Linked DNA regions of Homo sapiens: all the other regions are linked to region 7. The links are contacts of gene promoters, found by promoter capture Hi-C in blood cells and fetal thymus (Javierre and others, 2016). All regions are on one chromosome and are shown on one strand. The core of a region is centred on a gene start or on the middle of the fragment in contact, and the rest is flanking DNA. Distances in the headings are between cores, read along the strand shown.

The links. Contacts are between HindIII fragments. The CHiCAGO score rates a contact against its expected background, and 5 or more counts as called.
Region 1: a contact is called between a fragment that was not itself captured here and the fragment with the promoter of JADE2 in region 7, in 2 of 17 cell types (fetal thymus and neutrophils). The highest score is 6.1, in fetal thymus.
Region 2: a fragment that was not itself captured here is called in contact with the fragment with the promoter of JADE2 in region 7 in 3 of 17 cell types (naive CD4 T cells, non-activated CD4 T cells and fetal thymus); the score reaches 5.7 in naive CD4 T cells.
Region 3: a fragment that was not itself captured here is called in contact with the fragment with the promoter of JADE2 in region 7 in 4 of 17 cell types (naive CD4 T cells, neutrophils, naive CD8 T cells and 1 more); the score reaches 7.1 in naive CD4 T cells.
Region 4: a contact is called between a fragment that was not itself captured here and the fragment with the promoter of JADE2 in region 7, in 3 of 17 cell types (activated CD4 T cells, total CD4 T cells and non-activated CD4 T cells). The highest score is 8.4, in activated CD4 T cells.
Region 5: a fragment that was not itself captured here is called in contact with the fragment with the promoter of JADE2 in region 7 in 1 of 17 cell types (activated CD4 T cells); the score reaches 5.5 in activated CD4 T cells.
Region 6: a contact is called between the fragment with the promoter of PCBD2 here and the fragment with the promoter of JADE2 in region 7, in 1 of 17 cell types (neutrophils). The highest score is 6.3, in neutrophils.

Annotation. Positions count from the first base shown.
Region 1 is chr5:134,043,001-134,045,857 of GRCh38, forward strand. It overlaps a transcript of VDAC1 not described here. Among named protein-coding and RNA genes, the nearest start is that of VDAC1, 39 kb to the left of the region's middle. The HindIII fragment of the contact is 4,466 bases long and covers 1-2,857 here.
Region 2 is chr5:134,845,124-134,847,823 of GRCh38, forward strand. It overlaps C5orf24 (chromosome 5 open reading frame 24), which reads left to right and starts at 845. Exons shown (of 2, transcript NM_001135586.1): 1 at 845-1,089. RefSeq lists an enhancer at 556-1,291 and silencers at 811-1,190, 1,221-1,270. The HindIII fragment of the contact is 1,128 bases long and covers 751-1,878 here.
Region 3 is chr5:134,191,793-134,194,492 of GRCh38, forward strand. PPP2CA (protein phosphatase 2 catalytic subunit alpha) reads right to left here. Exons shown (of 7, transcript NM_002715.4): 7 at 2,540-2,700. Among named protein-coding and RNA genes, the nearest start is that of SKP1, 16 kb to the left of the region's middle. The HindIII fragment of the contact is 1,885 bases long and covers 491-2,375 here.
Region 4 is chr5:134,151,992-134,154,691 of GRCh38, forward strand. SKP1 (S-phase kinase associated protein 1) reads right to left here. Exons shown (of 6, transcript NM_170679.3): 6 at 1-2,700. Among named protein-coding and RNA genes, the nearest start is that of SKP1, 24 kb to the right of the region's middle. The HindIII fragment of the contact is 600 bases long and covers 1,012-1,611 here.
Region 5 is chr5:134,087,653-134,090,383 of GRCh38, forward strand. It overlaps a transcript of VDAC1 not described here. Among named protein-coding and RNA genes, the nearest start is that of TCF7, 26 kb to the right of the region's middle. RefSeq lists an enhancer at 1-46. The HindIII fragment of the contact is 370 bases long and covers 1,181-1,550 here.
Region 6 is chr5:134,903,854-134,906,553 of GRCh38, forward strand. It overlaps PCBD2 (pterin-4 alpha-carbinolamine dehydratase 2), which reads left to right and starts at 1,278. Exons shown (of 4, transcript NM_032151.5): 1 at 1,278-1,370. The coding sequence starts at 1,287. RefSeq lists a silencer at 834-1,593 and enhancers at 1,191-1,775, 1,776-2,361. The HindIII fragment of the contact is 31,150 bases long and covers 1-2,700 here.
Region 7 is chr5:134,524,411-134,527,112 of GRCh38, forward strand. JADE2 (jade family PHD finger 2) reads left to right here and starts at 1,260. Exons shown (of 12, transcript NM_001388185.1): 1 at 1,260-1,601. It overlaps LOC124901070 (a long non-coding RNA gene), which reads right to left and starts at 1,192. Exons shown (of 3, transcript XR_007058942.1): 1 at 1,056-1,192; 2 at 496-673. RefSeq lists silencers at 30-349, 930-979, 1,000-1,219, 1,350-1,429, 1,460-1,719 and 1 more. The HindIII fragment of the contact is 6,085 bases long and covers 1-2,702 here.

The sequences.
Region 1 (2,857 bases), core at 262-2,761, 480 kb before region 7:
TTCTTTTCCTGAGCTTGGATGAAAGAATGGGAGCAGCAGGGGCAGATCCAGGGAGGTCCAACTGATGTCACTGGATCCTGCCAAGAGCCTCAGTGAACACTATGATCCTGGGGCAGGGGTGGCAGGAGAAGAGTGATCAAGGCTTCAGGGTGAATGGTGGGCCTGTCGGCCTGGCAAAGTGATATAATCAATTTTGACTGTCCAAGGGTGACCAGAGATGCTCTCCTCTGAGTGAGGATTTCTCACCTCTCCGAATAGTTTCAAATGCCCAGTCTCATGTGAGCTTCACAACTATCCAGGATATATAGAAAAGGAGCTGCTGAGGTTCAGAGAAGCAAAGCAACGTACTCCAGGTCACACAGAGGCAGGGCTAGGACAAGGGCAGCGCTGGGCCACACCCCTCCCAGGAATTAGCCCAACCAGAGCGAAATTCTAGACTGCGGGACTACCTAAGAGGTGGCTGGAAAGGACTCTCACCTCCTCCTCTCTGGTTATTCTGCCCTAGGATGGGCTGGGTAGACTTTTCTTTTTTCTTTTTTCTTTTTTTTTCCCAGACAAGGTTCACTCTGTTGCCCAGGCTGGAGTGTAGTGGTGCAATCACGGCTCACTGCAGCCTCAACCTCCAGGCTCAAGTTATCCTCCCACCTCAGCCTCCTGAGTAGCTGGTACTTACAGTTGTGCACCACCATGGCCAGCTAATTTTTGTATGTTTTGTAGAGATGGGGTCTCATTATGTTGCCCAAGCTCATCTTGAACTCCTGGGCTCAAGCGATCCACCCATCTTGGCCTCTCAAAGTGCTGGGACTACAGGTGTGAGCCACCGCGCCCAGCCTAGGTAGACTTTTATCCAGTGCCTGCATTTTTCTTAAGCTCCCATTTTTTTAGTTCTTTGGTGATAAATGGAGCACTTGACTTCCATTCTCTCACCTAATCCTCACTCCAGCCCTGACAGGTAGGTGCCCTCAGTCGCCCATTTCAGAGATGCTGAAGCTGACGCAAAGAGACGTTGATCAACCAGCCCAAGGTAACCCAGCTGATGAGCACAGACTGCGACTCAAACCAAGCCTTTCCAACTCCAGAGCAGGCGATGTTTTTGCTCAGTACCCTGCCTCCCATCCCCATCCCTTCACCAATGGAATGTTGAGTTTACACCCCCTCATTTCCGTATAGCTGTCCAAAAGCTGGGCCTCCTCCAAGATCCAAGGTAGGTTATGATTGGCAGCCTGAACTTCAGAGGCCCATCTTCCCTTGCTGGGGGCCAACTCAGACATCTGTGCTCCCAGCTCTTTCCGCCCTAGCTCCAGCTCCCATCATATGCAGGTGTCTGCACAACGGCCCCTCCAACAGCAGCCAACACCTGGGTCCCCTCCCCATCAATGGGAGATCCGCCCCATCCTTCCTGTCGGGGAACCTCCTCAGCTGCTGGGAGGCTCCCCAGACAGCTAAGGGATTTTTATGGATTAATAAAAACTTCCAAGGCCCTGCTAAGCTAGCTGGCATTTCAGTTCCCTCAGTGGACAGAAGTGTCCTCTCTTCCTTCAGAATAGGGCTCCATGGCACATTTGCATATCTGTATGTGTCTGTGTGCACATACCCATTGGTGCACGTGTGTGTGCACATAACTGTGTGTGTGTGTGCATATTGCTATCTGTGTGTGTGTGTGCGCGCGCGCACAGGTATGTAAGTGCTTATCTGGGTATGCATCTAGGTATAGAAAAGACCGTGTGATGTCCCAAGCTGTGTGTTGTCTGTGTATGTGTGCTACTGAATTATTTATTCATTCAGCAAATATTTCTTGAGCTCCTACCCCATGTGAGGTACTGCGCCAGAGCTAGGGGCACAGAAGAGACTGGCTGCCTAGAGCTCAGAGTCTTCAAGGAGCTCATCACCATGTGAAACCCCCTCAACTCTGGCCATCCTGGGGAAGGGAGGCCTAGGCAGGGGCTGTAATTAGGCCCGGGAGCCAGAGGGCAGTTTTGGCCTTTTGGGTAGCTGGTTCCAAGACAATGCCCAGAGCAGGGGCCCAGAAACTCCCAACAAGGTCGGCCCTGTGAAGTTCCATTCCTTGTGCTTCCCAATCACATCACGGGTCAAAACCCTCCAAAGCCACAGTGGACAAAGCTCCTTCCATGGGGGAGGAAGAACAGCCAGAGAACTAGATTCCCAAAGAAAGTCCACAAAATCAGAAAAATTTTAGGCCCTGCTGGCCTGGACTCATCAGCTTCAGTCAAGAAAGCATAGTGTGTGTGGCCCATCTGGCCAGCCACGCCAGTTATCTACAGAGAGGACAGCTGAAGTCCAGTGTATCAGCTTCCTACTGCTGCTGGAAAAAGTGCCACAAACTTAGTGGCTTAAAACAGCAAAATGTCTTCTATTACAGTTCAGGAGGTCAGAAGTCCTAAAACCAAGGTGCCTGCAGAGCTGCCTTCATTCTGGAGGCTTTAGGGAAGAATCATTTCCTTGCCTTTTCTAGCTTCCAGGAGCTACCTACGTTCCTTGGCTTAGGACATCATCCTCATCTTCAAAGCCAGCAGCATCTCCAAATCTGTCTCTGGCCTCTGTTTCCATTGTCTCATCTCTTCTAATATGGACTCTTCTGCCTCCCTCTTTGAAGGGCCCTTGGGGTGACATTGGGTCTGCCTGAATAATCCAGGATGGTATCCCCATCCCAAGATTTTTCTTTTTTTTTTTTGAGATGGGGTTTCACTCTTGTTGCCCAGGCTGAAGTGCAATGGTGCGATCCTGGCTCACTGCAACCTCTGCCTCCTCTGCTTCCCAGGTTCAAGTGATTCTCCTGCCTCAGCCTCCCGAGTAGCTGGGATTACAGAGGCACACCACCACGCCTGGCTAATTTTCA
Region 2 (2,700 bases), core at 65-2,564, 320 kb after region 7:
TGCTTGTTTCGTGTGTTGTGTCCTGGCTTGTGTGTTTGTCCAGAAAAGTTGTTTCTCCTCCTTTCTTTCCTACTGGCAGGGCAGTACCTGGCTCAGGGCTGTGCTTATGGTAGAACTCAGTTCTATGAATTGTCCATCCTCAAATATCCTTCATTACATGGGGGAAAAGGGCAAGCATCCTCCTCTAGCCTCTTCCCACTGCTTAATAAAGTGTCTCCCTTTCAGTAGCTGCCCTAATTCTGGATCCTCTCCATTCTGACATCTGGAAATTCACAGGAGGAAGGAGTGAGGAAATGAATCCCTTCTAAGTGGGTTTGTGTGAGGTGACTGATATGTCAGATATCTCACAAGAAAAACATAATAGCGGTAGTTTGTTGTTCCATCCTTTCCTGTGATTATGGAATAATGAATGCGACAATTCCTGGGGCGTGGTGGCTTACGCCTGTAATCTGCGTGGATCATAGGATGTCCCATAAAATAAAGCTTTTCATTATCACATGATCCTGGGCATGAAGAGTCCCAACTCCCCTGACTATCATTTATTTGTCCTGTATCTAAGAAATGGGGTCAGCAGGAGTTCCAGCATCTCAGAATTGTGGTGAAAACCAATACAAGTAAGGAAGTTATTAATTCCCCATTTGGTGGGTTCCTCAACCCCAGCCACTGGGGACGGTCCACGCCGGATCACCAGCAGCTCAGGCTTAAGGCCACGACGCGCAAGCGCAGCCTGCCAGCCTGGCTCCCTCCCAAAGCTTGCGTGCAGGTTGGCGGCGGGAGATCGGGTCTCGCGATGCGAGTGAGCGTGTGCGTGCGCGGCCCTCGCGAGCTCGCGCACGCCGCCTCTAACACTACAGGGTGGTAGCGGCCTCTTCGTACTGCGTCCGGGGCAGGACCGTGCGCGGCGGCCGCGGCGGGTGCTGGGAGCCAGCGCCTGCCTCGCCGCCGCCCTCGCTGCCTGCCACTCCGTCTTGGCCCGTTCTCCGCACCGTGCAGAGGCGGCGGGCTGGGGAGGGAGCGGCGCCAGCACGAGGTTCCCAGCCGCTGGGAAGCCCCTAGACGCGCCGAGGGGCCGGGCTACGAGCGGCTGAGGTAGGTAGGGGTGCGCGGGCTGGTCAGCCGGCCGGGAGCGGGGTAGGGCGGCGGCGAGAACGGGCGCCTCGCTGACCGGGGAGAAGAGGCCTCCTGCCAAGGGGCCCTAGTGTAGCCGGAGTGAGAGGAGGGGCCCCGGACGTAGCCTGCTCTTCCCCGGTGTGGAGCCATTACGGGGGGACATTCCTCCTGCGGCGGGGGGAGGGAGCCCCCTTTCTTTTCTTTGAGAGGTCAGAATCCGCAGTCCGCCCTTCGCCTTTAAATAAAAGCCTGCCGGCTCGAGATCGGCGTCGCGATGGAGTGCCCGTGGACTTCTACGCTTGCGGAACTCCGAGTGGACGGATAGCGGCTTATGAATTTTGCTTTTTAGAGGGTACACAACCCTTTCTCTAGGGTGGCGTGCATCTTCTGCAAACTTGTTATTGCCAATACGCTAATAGTCGCTTTCAGCACACAACAGGTAATACATTCTAAACGCCTCGTGTCAAAATAAGGAGAGTCCTTATTTGTGCACCGTGGGGCACAGTTAAGGAGCAGGAAGAAGACAAAGGAGGCCGTTATTTATGTGCCGTCCTATTATCAAAACTTTCCGTGGTGGGGCAGGGTGCGTGGCTATTGGCCTCTGCTGAATGGACTTTCAGAGTGATTGAGGTGAGTTGCAAATCTTCATTTAGAATTATGAAACGTATATGATTATACATAATAGTTAGTCAAATGACCTGAAATAAATCTCTGAGAATTACGTGATCTTTGATCTTTGGAGAACAGAACTTGGGTTTCTTGAAAGGAAGCTTTCTCCATGTTTAGAAAGCTTCAGGGATGCTTTGTGAAGTTACTAAAAATAGTTACATTTCTTTATGTTGGCAGTAATGACTGCCACATTCAAGAGAAGAGAAAGGAATTGTTCTATAAAGAACGGCTCATTTTAGGGGTTAAACTTTAGGAGTTAAACACAATAAAACAACTTCAAGGATGGTAAGTTTTAGCTTATGCTTTAAGTATTCGAATTTAGTCACAGTCCAAATATATAGAAGCTCTTAGTTGACTCCTGTACATTCAGGGAACTATTTATTGGTTGTTTTTGTTTGTTTTGTTTTTTTTGAAACGGAGTCTCACTCTGTCCCCCAGGCTGGAGTACAGTGGCGCGATCGCGGCTCACTGCAACCTCTGCCTCCCGGGTTCAAGCAATTCTCCTGCCTCAGCCTCCCAAGTAGCTGGGATTATAGGCATGCGCCACCACACCCAGCTAATTTTTGTATTTTTAGTAAAGATGGTGTTTAACCATGTTGACCAGGCTGGTCTCGAACTGCTGACCTCGTGATCCACCCTTCTCAACCTCCCAAAGTGCTGGGATTACAGGCGTGAGCCACTGCACCCGGCTTCAGTAACTATTTAAAAAGATGATCTTTAACCTTTGATAGTCTACACAACCTGTTCTATAACTCTTGGCTTCTATTCAGTCCACGCTGTCTGGAAATGTAGTATTCATCCTATTTTTTTTTTTTTTTTCCTGAGATGGAGTCTGTTTCCTAGGCTGGAGTACAGTGGCACGAACTCGGCTCACTGCAACCTCCGCCTTTGGGTTCAAGCGATTCTCCTGCCTCAGCCTCT
Region 3 (2,700 bases), core at 183-2,682, 330 kb before region 7:
AGACCTTCACTGCAAAGGGACTTACATTGCAAGTTGGACTCAACAGCAGGAGTACATTCTGCAGATTTTACATCTGGTATATTTCACCACACCATGTAACCTACTTTCTGATATGTTTGGATATACCTGACCTTAAAGCTCCCCTTTGACCAGGCCTGCCAAACCCAATTACTAGCTCTTGCTCCTATCCCCAGGTTCCAATGCCATACTCAGAGCAGTTCTAGAACTGCAAAAAGCCTAATGATTAGTCTCCTTGCAGATCAGAAGGTATGCTAAGCCTTGAGGTAGAGGCACTCAACAGCTTTGGGCATTTCTAATAGCTTTAATTAGACATTCCATTGTGGTCTTCCATAGTGTTCTATGGAGCAAGCACTCTTAACTTCCTATCACGATTCTGGCCTTTGACTTCCACCATCAGTAATCTTGCTTGCTGGTGGCTACAGCCTACCACTGCACTAAGGAAGAACAGCTAAATTATTTCTTGGAAGAAAGCTTTTAAAAATATATTTTTTCGAGACAAGAGTCTCGCAGTCTGGAGTGCAATGGCGCGATCTCAGCTCACTGCAACCTCTGCTTCCCGGTTTCAAGCGATTTAGTCTCACCCTCCCAACTAGCTGGTACTACAGGTAAGTGCCATCACACCCAGCTAGTTGTTTTTTTAGTGGAGACAGGATTTCACCATGTTGGCCAGGCTCATCTTCAACTCCAGGCTCAAGTGATCCACCCACCTCGGACTCCCAAAGTGATAGGATTACAGGCGGGAGCCACTGTGCCCAGCAGGAAGAACACATTAAAGTCCTTCCCACTAACAACACTGAATGGTTGAGAAGATTGTACACCATGGCTGAGGCTATCTCAAAATAGATTCCGAAGGGACCCAAGTAGTAAAATAAGAGCAGTGGTTTGCAGCATTAGCAGCATCGTACGCAGAGTAGACAAAATCCTGGCTACTTCTCACAAGCCTGTTGAGGATACAAACTAGTCATCCCTCAGTAATCTTGGGAGACTGGATCCAGGACACCTCCCTTGGATAGTCAAGTCTGGAAGTCAGTCCCCTTTACCAGTGGGTTCTGCATTCAAGAATACTGCATTTTTTGGCCAGGCGCGGTGGCTCATGCCTGTAATCCCAGCACTTTGGGAGGCTGAGGCAGGTGGATCGCCTGAGGTTGGGAGTTTCATACCACCCTGGCCAACATGGTGAAACCGTCTCTACTAAAAATACAAAATTAACTGGGCGTAGTGAGCCACGCCTGTAATCCCAGCTACTTGGGAAGCTGAGGCAGGAGACTTGCTTGAACTCGGGAGGCACAGGTTGCAGTGAGCCAAGATCGTGCCACTGCACCCCAACCCGGGTGACAGAGAGAGACTCCGTCTCAGGGGGAAAAAAAAAAGAACACTGCATTTTCAATCCCAGGTTGGTTGACTCCATTGACTCATTTGATGCAAACTCTGTGGATACTGATGGCTGGCTATACTTTAAATTATGGATTACTCATAATACCTAAACAATGAAATTGCTATGTATATAGTTATACTGTGTTTTTTTTTTTTAGACAGAGTCTTGCTCTGTTGCCCAGGCTGAAGTGCAGTGGCTCTATCTTGGCTCACTGCAACCTCCACCTCCCAGATTCAAGTGATTCTCCTGCCTCAGCCTCCTGAGTAGCTGGGATTACAGGCACACGCCACCATGCCCAGCTAATTCTTATAGTTTTAGTAGAGACGGGGTTTCACCATGTTGGCCAGGCTGGTCTTGAACTCCTGACCTCCGGTGATCCCCCCACCCCTGCCTCCGCCTCCTAAAGTGCCGGGATTATGGGCATGAGCCACTGCTCCTGGCCACTGTATTGGTTTTTATTGGTTCCTTTTCCCAAAAATATTTTCAGTCCATGGTTGGCTGAATTCTCAGATGTGGAACCCTTGACTATGGAGGGCCGACTGCACTTAATTAAATTCAACCTCAGACATGAGGGTTTGTGCTTTTCCTTAAAAAACAAAAAAGTGTGACTTTTTCCAGCATTCACTCATTAGCTATAATTATTTCCTCTTTCACTCTTGGGAATGAGGAATTCTGGTCCAGGCATGACAGCAAATACAAAACAAACTGGGGTCTGTTGCCTATATCACTTACTTGGTTACCACTGATCTTTGTATGTTCAACTTTTAAACAATTCAAACACAGTCCACATTTTTCTTTCCTCAAATTTATATACCAGCTGATAAAAATACATTTCAATCTATTTACAGGACAGCACTGCCTACAAGCCAACAATGCTGTGTTAGCAACATCCCATTTTTTTCTAGACAGTAGTACTTGTGCAATTAAATATATATAATAAAAAGTAGAAATAAAATGTACTTATATTCCTAAAACATAAAGCTTTAAATGTAATTGGAAAAAATATAGAAATCACCAGGCATGCCCAAAATAATACATCTACAACCTTCATAAGGCTATTTGCTAAAACAGATGTATACTTGTGAAGGGAAAAAAATCTAAATTAAAAAAGTTTATGAAGACTAGAAATATGTCAAAACAATGTGTGAGGACGAAGGCTTTAATGCAAAATAGCTTTAGCTCACAGAACCAAAATCCATCTGAAAACAAACAAGCCTATTACCAAACTATAGGTTACTAAACTATAGGCCCATTTCTAAGAACACATTTATGGTTGGAAGCAAAGGAATATTTATACTAAACAG
Region 4 (2,700 bases), core at 62-2,561, 370 kb before region 7:
GGCCAAAGGACATGCTCTGAAATATTTCTTACACCATACTTCATCTTGATATGCACAGCCAGTTCTCTTACTCATTCTCTGTGACCACTGGAGGTAGTGATTTTTAACAACAGTAAACAAGAAAAAGTCATCAGGACTCTAACTGTAAAACCCCCAACATTCAAAAGACTGGTTTAGTTGAACAGCCAAAAAATAAATAAATAAAAATTAAAATTAAAAAAATTAGAATTTAGCTCACTCAAAAATTGCCCTGCCTAATGTGGGTCTGATGAATAAATGCTGATAAAATACTACTGAGTGTCAGCAAAGTACTGTGACTAATCCTGCCCTAATTTCTCTTTAGTCTATATTCTCAGGGAAATGTACCAACACCCAACCTTCTGCTGTTAGTTCCTGACTGTGCACTGCTTTTTCCTCACTTTGGCATCTGTCCACCCCCAAACAAATCCAACTTGATTCTTGAAACCAAATTAGTTTCACTTTACAAAACCTTTCGTAGCACCTTTCAGCTCTGTAGCCCCCCATTGGCTCATTAATCTGTTCTGTCCAGAAACTTTTTTTTTTTGAAACGGAGTCTCGCTCTGTCGCCAGGCTGGACTGCAGTCAGTGGCGTGATGTCGGCTCACTGCAACTTCCGCCTCCCGGGTTCAAGCGGTTCTCCTGCCTCAGCCTCCCGAGTTGCTGGGACTACAGGCATGTGCCACCACGCCCAGCTAATTTTTGTATTTTTAGTAGAGATGAGGTTTCACCATGTTGGCCAGGATGGTCTCGATCTCTTGACCTCGTGATCTGCACACCTCAGCCTCTGAAAATGTTGGGATTACAGGCGTGAGCCACCGTGCCCAGCCCAGGAACATTTTTATTAGAGTTATCCACTCCCTCCCAGCAGTATTTATGCCTTCTCTCCTGAACTACACCAAAAGCTCCCAGCTCCCTAGAGGGAAACCATGTCTAATGCTTCCTACCAAGGAGAAGCCAGGAGCTACACTTTAAGGATTCAGCCATTTTGTAAGCTTTCCCTTTGCTTGCAATCTTCTTATTCTTGACTTCTTCCTAGCTTAAAAAGTTATAGACTGGTTTCAAATCCAGATAATTGAAGATTAACTTTTCAAATCCTCAAACAACTTTGTAGGGAGAACATTTACTTGGTTGATTCCTTCCTACCAGAATGTACACTGAGCTTTAGAAAAGGAAAAATTGGTGGGTGCTGTGGCTCACATCTGTAATACCAGCACTTTGGGAGGTTGAGGCAGGAGGATCTTGAGCCCAGGAATTCGAAAACAGCCTGGGCAACATGAGGAGACCTCATCTCTATAAAAATCAATTTAAAAAAACAAAAACTAGCAAGGCATGGTAGCACACACATGTAGTCCTAGCTATTCAGGAGGCTGAGGCAGGAGGACTGTTGGAGCCCAAGAGTTCGAGGCTGCAATGAGCTGTGATCACATCACTGCACTCCAGCCTGGGGGGCAGAGGTGAGACCTTGTCTCTTAAAAGAAGAATCAAAAAGCTCTTCGGGCTACTCTGGGCACACTGCCTATGGGGTAGTCCTGCTCTGCAAGGAGCAGTTAAAAAAAATCTTCAAAAGCTAATGGTGGCAAGCAAAAGTTAAGCTTGTAAAGGGTGCTGAGAGCAAGAGGTCTGCTGCTCTCTCAATTTTCTCTTTTCTGGTGGAAAATCACCTTATATTCCCAAACTGCCTTATTGAGAGCCTAGGCAAATTAACTTAAACAAAATTTATGTTGGGATCAGAACACAGCCCATAGGATTGGTCAATTTTTACGTAAACTGAAAAATCAATGTGATTTGGAATATCTGCCTGCCCTAAGTGAGATGCCCACAGTGACTCACTGTTACTATCCTCCCTCCCCAGCTAGTTTTAAGATAAGCTCAGCATTACTATGATGTCATGTTACAAGGCTGCAGTTACCTGTCCAACCAAGTCACAATATAGTTCTTGCTTAATTCCAGGAGCTGGTGTATTCTGACAGTTGTAGAGTAAAAAGTCACAGCTATAATCCCACACAGGGAGCTACAGGATGATTTTGTGAATCTCTGAGAAAATATAAGAACTGTAAAGCAGTATCTATTTTGTATACCAAGAATAGATTAAGGCAAGCTAACACATGGCACTTCAAAAGAGTAACTTGCTTCTACAACTTAAGAATTATTAGGGCCGTGTGCGGTGGGTCACACGTGTAACCTCAGCACTTTCGGAGGCTAAGGCGGGCGGATCACAAGGTCAGGAGTTCAAGACCAGCCTGGCCAATATGGTAAAACTCCATCTCTAATAAAAACACAAAAAAATTAGCCAGGCATGGTGGCATGTGCCTGTAATCCCAGCTACTCGGGAGGCTGAGGCAGGAGAATCACTTGAACCCAGGAGGCGGAGGTTGCAGTGAGCTGAGATCGCACCACTGCATTCCAGTCTGGGCGACAGAGTGAGACTCTGTCTCAAAAAAAAAAAAAAAAAAAAAAAAATTATTAGAATTTGAGGGGGCACATCTTTAGCCTATGACAATGTTAAGGAGAAAATAATAAGCTAACATTCAGGAAGGTTTTGGTTTACTTTTAGATCACAAGTGACATAATCAATGAAAAGGTGAGAAGCCAAAGGACTGCCATGGAGTCCTTGAAAGGACTTCATCATTAAAAGCAGCACACTGCAGAAAGCAGCATGTTGTTTACAGAGGAAACCGA
Region 5 (2,731 bases), core at 116-2,615, 440 kb before region 7:
AAGACCAGCCTGACCAACATGGTGAAACCCCCGTCTCTACTAAAAATACAAAAATAAGCTGGGTGTGGTGGCACGTGCCTGTAATCCCAGCTACTCAGGAGGCTGAGGCAGGAGAATGACTTGAACCCGGGAGGCGGAGGTTGCAGTGAGCTGAGATCGCGCCACTGCACTCCAGTCTGGGAGATAGAGTGAGTGAGACCCTAAAAAACAAAACAAGCAGGGCACGTTGGTTCACGCCTGTAATCCCAGCACTTTAGGAGGCCAAGGCGGGCAGGTCACCTGAGGTCAGGAGTTTTGAGACCAGCCTGACCAACATGGTGAAACCCCATCTCTACTAAAAATACAAAAAAAAATTAGCCGGGCGTTGTAGCGCGTGCCTGTAATCCCAGCTACTCAGGAGGCTGAGGCAGGAGAATCGCTTGAACCCAGGAGGCAGAGGTTGCAGTGAGCTGAGATCACGCCACTGCACTCCAGCCTGGGTGACAAGAGCAAAACCCTGTCTCAAAAAACAAAACAAAACAAAACAAAACAAAAAAAACAAGCAGCTCTGACAACTACTTGATGAGGGAAAAAGCAGAAAATCTCTGAGCAAGGGAACCTGTCCCCAGAGCCCCCAACAAAACCCATCACAGGTCCCAGTGCTGGACTAGGCACAGGGTGGGCCAGGTGCTACTGAAAAGGGGGCCCCCAAGGCCTACTGAGCTTCCAAGCTCTCTGGGGGTCAGGAAGCCCCACTAGCCTGTGACTCCATCAGTCTTAGGGCAGGCCTAGGCCTGAGCCAGGCTGGGAGAGACAGCTGGAAGGGGGCTGACCACAGGCATGGAGGAGGCAAGGGAGAGCATTCCAGGGGTACCAGTGGCCAAAAATGAGACAGAGAAGGAGGCAAACTGGGGAAGGTGCCAGGCTCAATCATTCAATGCCTGTTTTTGTTTTCTTAACCCTTTTTATTGTGAAAAGAAAAACACTCAGGAAAAGCACATAAAGCATAAATGTATAACTTAATGAATTATGACAAAGTGAACACTTATGTAGCCACCTCCAGGATCAAGAAATAGAGCATGGCCTGTCCCCTGGAAATGTCCCACCTACATCTTTCCCCCTTGCTCCTCACTGAAGGTTACCACTATTACCACTATTCCAACTTAGGGTAATTGCTTGCAACATTCCAAGTTTTCCCCCAAGCTTACCTCTCCCCTAACACCATGGAATAGACTGTCCGGTTGTGAACTTCATACGAATGGACTCAATCACACACATCCATTCAGCTTTTGCACCACATATTATGCTGAAGGTTCATCCACGCTGTTGCATGCAGCCATGGTTCCTTCATCATCATGGCAGCTGGCCCCTTTGCCTACTTTGATGCCCTAATTCTCAGTTTGCAAGAAGCTAAGACTGTGGGAGCCCAGAGTCCTGCCTTGCCTGCACCAGCCAGGGGTGCCCAGCCTGCCACAGGCTCTAGGGCTTTGCCTGGACTTGCTTTTCTCCAGATGGCCACCTGCAGGGACAGGCAAGGACAAAGAGCAGAGTGCTCCCAACCGTCTCTGCAAAGCTTTGCATAGGGGCACACCCCAGGCTCTGAGCTGCTCGCCCCAGCCTCAGCGCAGATGACTGATGAGGACAGTAATCTATGGCTGCTCTGCCAGCTCCGAAACCAGCTGGGCACTGGGACCAAGCAATAAACCAGGCACATCCCAAATGAGAAGCAGGTGGCTTCTTAGGACCATATTTCTCAACATCCTGCCCTTATGGTTTGCCCCTTATCCAATGTGGTTCCCATTTGAAGGAGCCTATAACCCATATGAAAAATGATAGAAATTACAGCTCGCCATCCCAGCCTGGCTGTTTAGGATATTGGAAGAAACATTAAGGCAGGGCTGCCCTGATTAAAAGGTAGAGGCACTGAGGAGAGGTGGGGGGAGCCAGGCAACCCCCCATCATGCCTTTCCCTGCTCCCTTCTGCATGCAGAGTAGCCAGTTCACCTCTCCCAGGTACCTTTGAAAATGTGGCTCATGGCCGGGTGTGGTGGCTCATGGCCGGGTGCGGTGGCTCATGGCTGGGTGCAGTGGCTCATGCCTGTAATCCCAGCATTTTGGGAGGCCAAGGCGGGTGGATCACTTGAGGTCAGGAGTTCGAGACCAGCCTGGCCAACATGGTGAAACCCCGTCTCTACTAAAAATACAAAAAAATTAGCCAGGCATGGTGGCGCATGCCTGTAATCTAAGCTACTTGGGAGGCTGAGGCAGGAGAATGGCTTGAACCTGGCAGGCAGAGGTTGCAGTGAGCTGAGATCATGCCATTGCACTCCAGCCTGGGTGACAGAGAGAAACTCTGTCTCAAAAAAAAAGAAAGAAAGAAAATGTGGCTCAGTAGGAATTAATGAGGTGGGCGCCAAATTGTTCATTCTCAGGCCTCGTCCAGTCTGGGGAGGACCCAAATTTCTGCCCCAGTTCCTCCTTCCATCAGTCCCCACATTCAGGCCAAGCTAGGTCCCACCTCCGAGCACTATCCATGCTGCCTGAATGTCCTCTCACCTACCCAAGGTTTGCCCTTCCCAGGCCCCAGGAGCTACTCTAATTCTTCGTGGAATATTCCTGGGTGGTTGGTTCAGAGACCCACTGATGTTCTGCCCCCAAACGCCTGGCGTTTCTCCTCTTCTGAACCACACCAATTAGCCTTGATTACAGAATGGACGCATTGTTCTCTAACAGTTTCATATGTGCAAGCCCC
Region 6 (2,700 bases), core at 28-2,527, 380 kb after region 7:
GGCCTCAAGTGATCCTCCTGCCTTGTCCTCCCAAAGTGCTGTGATTACAGGTGCGGGCCACCATGCCTGGCCTGCTTAAACTATTCAGTTAAAAACAAACAAAAAAGAGGCCGGGCGCGGTGGCTCACGCCTGTAATCCCAGCACTTTAGGAGGCCGAGGCGGGCGGATCACGAGGTCAGGAGATTGAGGCCATCCTGGCTAACACTGTGAAACCCCGTCTCTACTAAACATACAAAAACAAAATTAGCCGGGCGTGGTGGCGGGTGACTGTAGTCCCAGCTACTCGGGAGACTAAGGCAGGAGAATGGCGTGAACCCGGGAGGCGGAGCTTGCAGTGAGCCGAGATCGCGCCACTGCACTCCAGCCTGGGCGACAGAGCGAGACTCCGTCTCAAAAAAAAAAAAAAAAAAAAAAGATACAAGTGAGTATTCTTAATAGTATGTCAATTACATCTCAAAAAAGTCAAAAAAAAAAAAAAAAAAAGAATGAAAGAATACCTCCCCAAAAATGATACAAGAAAAGATTCACCTAAATCTGTTCACAGCTGTCTGCAGAGCTCCTACTGTGTGCTGAGCCTGGGGGTAAACAGGGCACGGACACGTTTGGGAGGGGATTACAGGCCGGGTTTCCACACTTTTTGGTCCAGGCAAACCCAGACGAGCCAGCTGGCTCAAGAACTTGGCAGCTGCGTGATGACTGAACAGAGGCTGCGTTCGAACCCACTACTGCAAGACTTAGGAGCCCCCGATGGGAACTGCCGTGGTTCACTGCCCCAGCCCCGCCGCTCAACTGCCCCGCCCTGGCCTACGACATCCTCCTGCCCGCATGGACTGCGCGCAGCGCCGCCAAGCGGGGAGCCCAGCTCGGTGCTAGCGCCCGCGAAGCGGAGGAGGCCGGCGCCCGAGGCTGGGCGAAGTTCCTCCTAGCGCAGCGAGGACCGGAGGGCAAGGCCAGCGCGCGCCGGGCGACCTGCGTCCCGGGCACAGACGCGACGGGCCCGCACGGGGCGGGGACCGCGCGCGCCTGCTGGGCCTACGGCTGTGGGGCGCGCAGAGTCCACCTGGCGGCCAAGGGCGCTGGCGACCGCTGAAGCTCCTGGGGGTGTTCGGGGTCCGGGCTGCGCCTGTGCCCGCGGGAAGGCTGGGCGCTTCCCACACACAGACCCCGCTCCGGGCCAGCCCCGCAGGGAGACTACCAGGGCTGGCGGTAGCTGGGCGTGGTCGGGTCGGGGGCGGCTGTGGGCGGCCGGCAGGCAGCGCGCGGGGCAGCCCTCGGCAGACGGCCAATGGCGGCGGTGCTCGGGGCGCTCGGGGCGACGCGGCGCTTGTTGGCGGCGCTGCGAGGCCAGAGCCTAGGGCTAGCGGCCATGGTGAGTGCACAGCGGCCGCGTGGGTGGGGGTCCGGGGTCGGGGGGCGGTGCGAGGCCCGGCGGCGTCGGCTGAGGGACCAGCGGGACTGGGGCGAACCCGGCGTGGGCCGAGCCTTGGAGCTCGGGCGTCGGGTCACCGCGTCCCGGGACTGACCACCTGTCCGGTGCGCCGCTCAGAGACCGGGGTGGCCGCAGCCTCCGCCACTTGCCCTTGACTTTACACTTCCGCCGAAGCCTACGAACTTGCCAACCGGAAACAAATGGGAACGAATTTTGTTCAGCAACTACAAAAGGCAGATGTGAAAAGTAGTTGCAGAACAATTCGGTGCCCGCTGCCGCTCGTTGTGCTGAGGACGAACGGCGCTGCGGGCCTGGCTCCCTATGGCGGCTCCCTGCTCGCGCTTCACTCCAAGGGGAACCCACAGAGGTTTTGGAGGAGTTATTAATAAATTGTCTTTTTTGGTGACATATTGACTTTTCTTTCCTTTTCCAAGGGGCCGTCAGTTTTCCTGCTGTAGAAATTAATATTTTGGAGTAAATGGAGGGAAAGTTTTAACATGCAGCACCACCTAGTGGAAAAGTGGTGCGTTAAACTCACCATCTCATTTTAAGTTGCATTTTAACCGCCCATTTCAGTTTGAAATGTTTTGTTTTGTTTTGTTTTTTCGACACGGAGTCTCGCTGTATCGCCGAGCCCGGAGTGGAGTGGCGCGATCTCGGCTCACTGCAACCTCCATCTCCTGGGTTCACGCTATTCTCCTGCCTCACCCTCCCGAGTAGCTGCGATTACAGGCGCGTGCCATTTCGCCCAGGTAATTTTTTATATTTTTAGTAGAGAGGGGTTTTCGCCATGTTGGCCAGGCTAGTCTCGAACTCCTGACCTCAGGTGATCTACCTGCCTCGGCCTCCCAAAGTGCTGGGATTACAGGCGCGAGCCACTGCGCCTGGCCTGAAATTCTTTAATAGAAGAATTTTTTTTTTTTTTTTTTTTTTTTTTTGAGAAGGAGAATCACGCCGTCACCCAGGCTGGAGTGCAGTGGCGCGATCTCGGCGTATTGCAAGCTCCGCCTCCCGGGTTCACGCCATTTTCCTGCCTCAGCCTCCCGAGTAGCTGGGACAACAGGCGCCCGTCGCCACGCCCGGCTAATTTTTTTGTATTTTTAGTAGAGGCGGGGTTTCACCGTGTTAGCCAGGATGGTCTCGATCTCCTGACCTCGTCATCCACCCTCCTCGGCCTCCCAAAGTGCTGTAATAGAAGAAATTTAAAATAGCTCGAAGACGGAGGAAGATAGGCACTCCGCCGCTTCTTGTCCACGAAGGGGAGAACACA
Region 7 (2,702 bases), core at 10-2,509:
ACTGTTTGTGCACCACAAGGTCAAGTCGGGAAGTGGAGCCGGAGGAGGAGGGGCGAGGAGGCGAAGGGTGGGGAGAGGGGCGCCCCGCTTCCTCGCCATGTGCCAGCCTTTGGAAGTTACCCCTCGGTTTTTAACCCTTTCGGGGTAATGGGAAGGAAGAGCAAGGAGGAAGGGGTCGCCCCGGGGCAAAATCCTGCTGGGGCCAGGATGTGCAACCACCCACCCACCCGCTCATCACTGCCTTCTCCACCCCCCGGAAATGCGGGGCAGCGCTAGGCGCCAGGAGGCACCCGGGAGGGGGGAGGGGGCGACGAGCCCAATGGGGACCCTCTCTACGGACCGCCCCTCTTTTCTTGAGGTCGCCTACAATTTCAAGTTCCCCCGCCCGGAATGTTAGTTTTCCATTTGGAGTGGGTGCGGGGAGGAGGGCCGCGCCCCCTCCCCAAGACTCGCGTTCGCCCCTCCACTCCCCTCCTGCCAGCACTTTCTGCTCACTTCTGGTGCTGCAAAACGCCACGCAATTTATTCGATTCGCATTTTAAAACCAGCGATTCAGAAGCAGGGCCTAGGGCGAGGGTCTTCCAGCGCTGGAGCCCCGGGGGGCGGGGTGCTCAGTGCAAACCTCGTTCCCTCCGCGAGTGTCGCCTCCAGGCTGTTATTTGCAAAGAAACGTCTTTTTGACGCAGGGAGAAATGGCAAATTTTAAGTACGTCATTAATATGGCGCCAAAAGATTTTTTTAAGTATAAGCTCGCTTTTTTTTTTTTTTAAGGTTGCGGGGGGCGCCGCCCGGGTCTGGGGCGCGTAGGGGGCGGGGTGTGAGCAGAAAGTGTGAGTGAAAGAGTGGAGGGGCGGGGTATGTGTGTGAGTGTGTGAAGTGTGAGCAGACCTGATGGGACTTGCACGGGCGCAGCCGCCGCTCGGGCCCGGCCCTGGGGACAGGGCGGGCTAGGGGCGCCCCAGAGTCCATGGGGAGTCCGGGCCCAGGGTGCCAGCAGGCGTGGTGGTGGGGCTGCGAGGGAGGGCACCCTTCCCCCACGGGGCCCGCAACGCTACCTGGACTCCCCGCCGGAGCCAAACAACTGGGCGGGGGGTTGGGGGGGCGGCGACGGGGGTGTCGGGAGCGGAGATCCGAGTGAATAAGAAAAAAGTGGCTACTCCCCCTCCCTCGCTCCTCCTGCCCGCCCCCACCCCACCCCCACCCCAACACATTTTTTTTTTCTAAAGAGATCACAAGGAAGTCTTGGTTTAAAAAGAAACAGAAACATACACAGGGGGTTGGTGAATGGTGCCGACCGCGGCCATCGCAGTTGGAGGCTATTTTTTGGGGGGGGTGAGTAGCGTCCATGGAGTTACTTTGCGCCCACTCCTAGCGGCACCGGCTTAGGTCCTGCGGGCCGACCGTCCCCGGCGGGGGGCGTGGGGCCTGGGACGCCGCGGGCCCGGCCGCCTCCCTCGCCGCGACCCCGGATGGATGCGCGCCCCCCGCCCTCCCGCGCCGGCCCCAGGAGCTCCCGGCTTCGGGAGCATCCTTCCCGCGCCGGTCCCTGCAGCGGCGCGTAGCCGAGGGCAGCGCCCGTCAGGGGGGCACCGCGGAGCAAGGTAAGATCCAGCCCCCGGCGGATGGGCCCTGCGCATCTCCACGACGTTATTTGGCGTTTTTGCAACAGATCTGCCAGCGCTCTTCGCTCCCTCGCTCTCTCTTGCTCGCTCGCTCCCTCTCTCTCCTGCTGGCTGCCTGTTCTAGGAAGCCAGCGCGGAGAGGGGGGGGATGCACAGCACAGGGGAGAGAGATTGCGCATGTTGGTCAGTCGTGTTTTAAAGAGTACAGTGCGGGGAGGCTGAGAGGGGCGCATGCAACAACAACTTTTGGAAGGGTGAGCTTGGCGACCTTCTTTATTAATGACTGCGGCAAAGCGCCCCCGGGCCGGCGAGGGGGCGCGGGCGGGCGGGGGCGCGCCAGGGCTGCAACTTCCCCGCGGGCTCCGGCCGGGCGTAGGGGCTGCGGCGGGAGATGGGTACGGTGGGGAGGTCGAGCGGCCCGGGCGGGGGCTCCGAGAACCTGGAGCTATCTGCCCTCCTGTCTCCCCGAGTTTCATTTTGTTGATACGCAGCACGTCCGGGCGCCGAACCGGGCTGAGCCGGTGCACATGACCTCGCGCTGGGCTCACGTGCAGCCGGTCCGGTCCCAGACACCTTCCGGGGGCCACCGCCTCCGCCCTGTCGCCCCCTCTCCCGGCCCGGTGCACGCGGGCGCTGCACGCGGGGGCAGCATGCTCGGCTCCTGGGGTTGGAGGCTCTGCACAAATTAGACAGTTTTTTTGGAGGGGCGGGGGACACCCTTTCCAGGTGAGTGTGGAGGGTGCGGAGCCTCGGCGCCAGGGGTGAGGACTGGGGTCGGGGGCAGCCTCCACCTCCGGGGCCGCGCGGTAGTCCAGCTGGGGAGAGGCGCTGGGAGAGTGGAAATGTACCGGCGGCGGCCGGAGCGGCGGGTGCGCGCCCGCGGGGCGACGGCAGGGGGCGTGGCCCTTGTTTACCTTCTCCCAACTCTGCCGGTTCGCGTCCCGCTTCAGGGACGGATCCGCAGTCCCCAGCCCTCTGCCTAGGGCCCTGCACCATGGGTGGTACCAGGAAGATGCCGGCTTGTGGCGGACCCCGTTTGGGACGCACACACCTGACTCTCAAATGAGTGACATTGCAGCC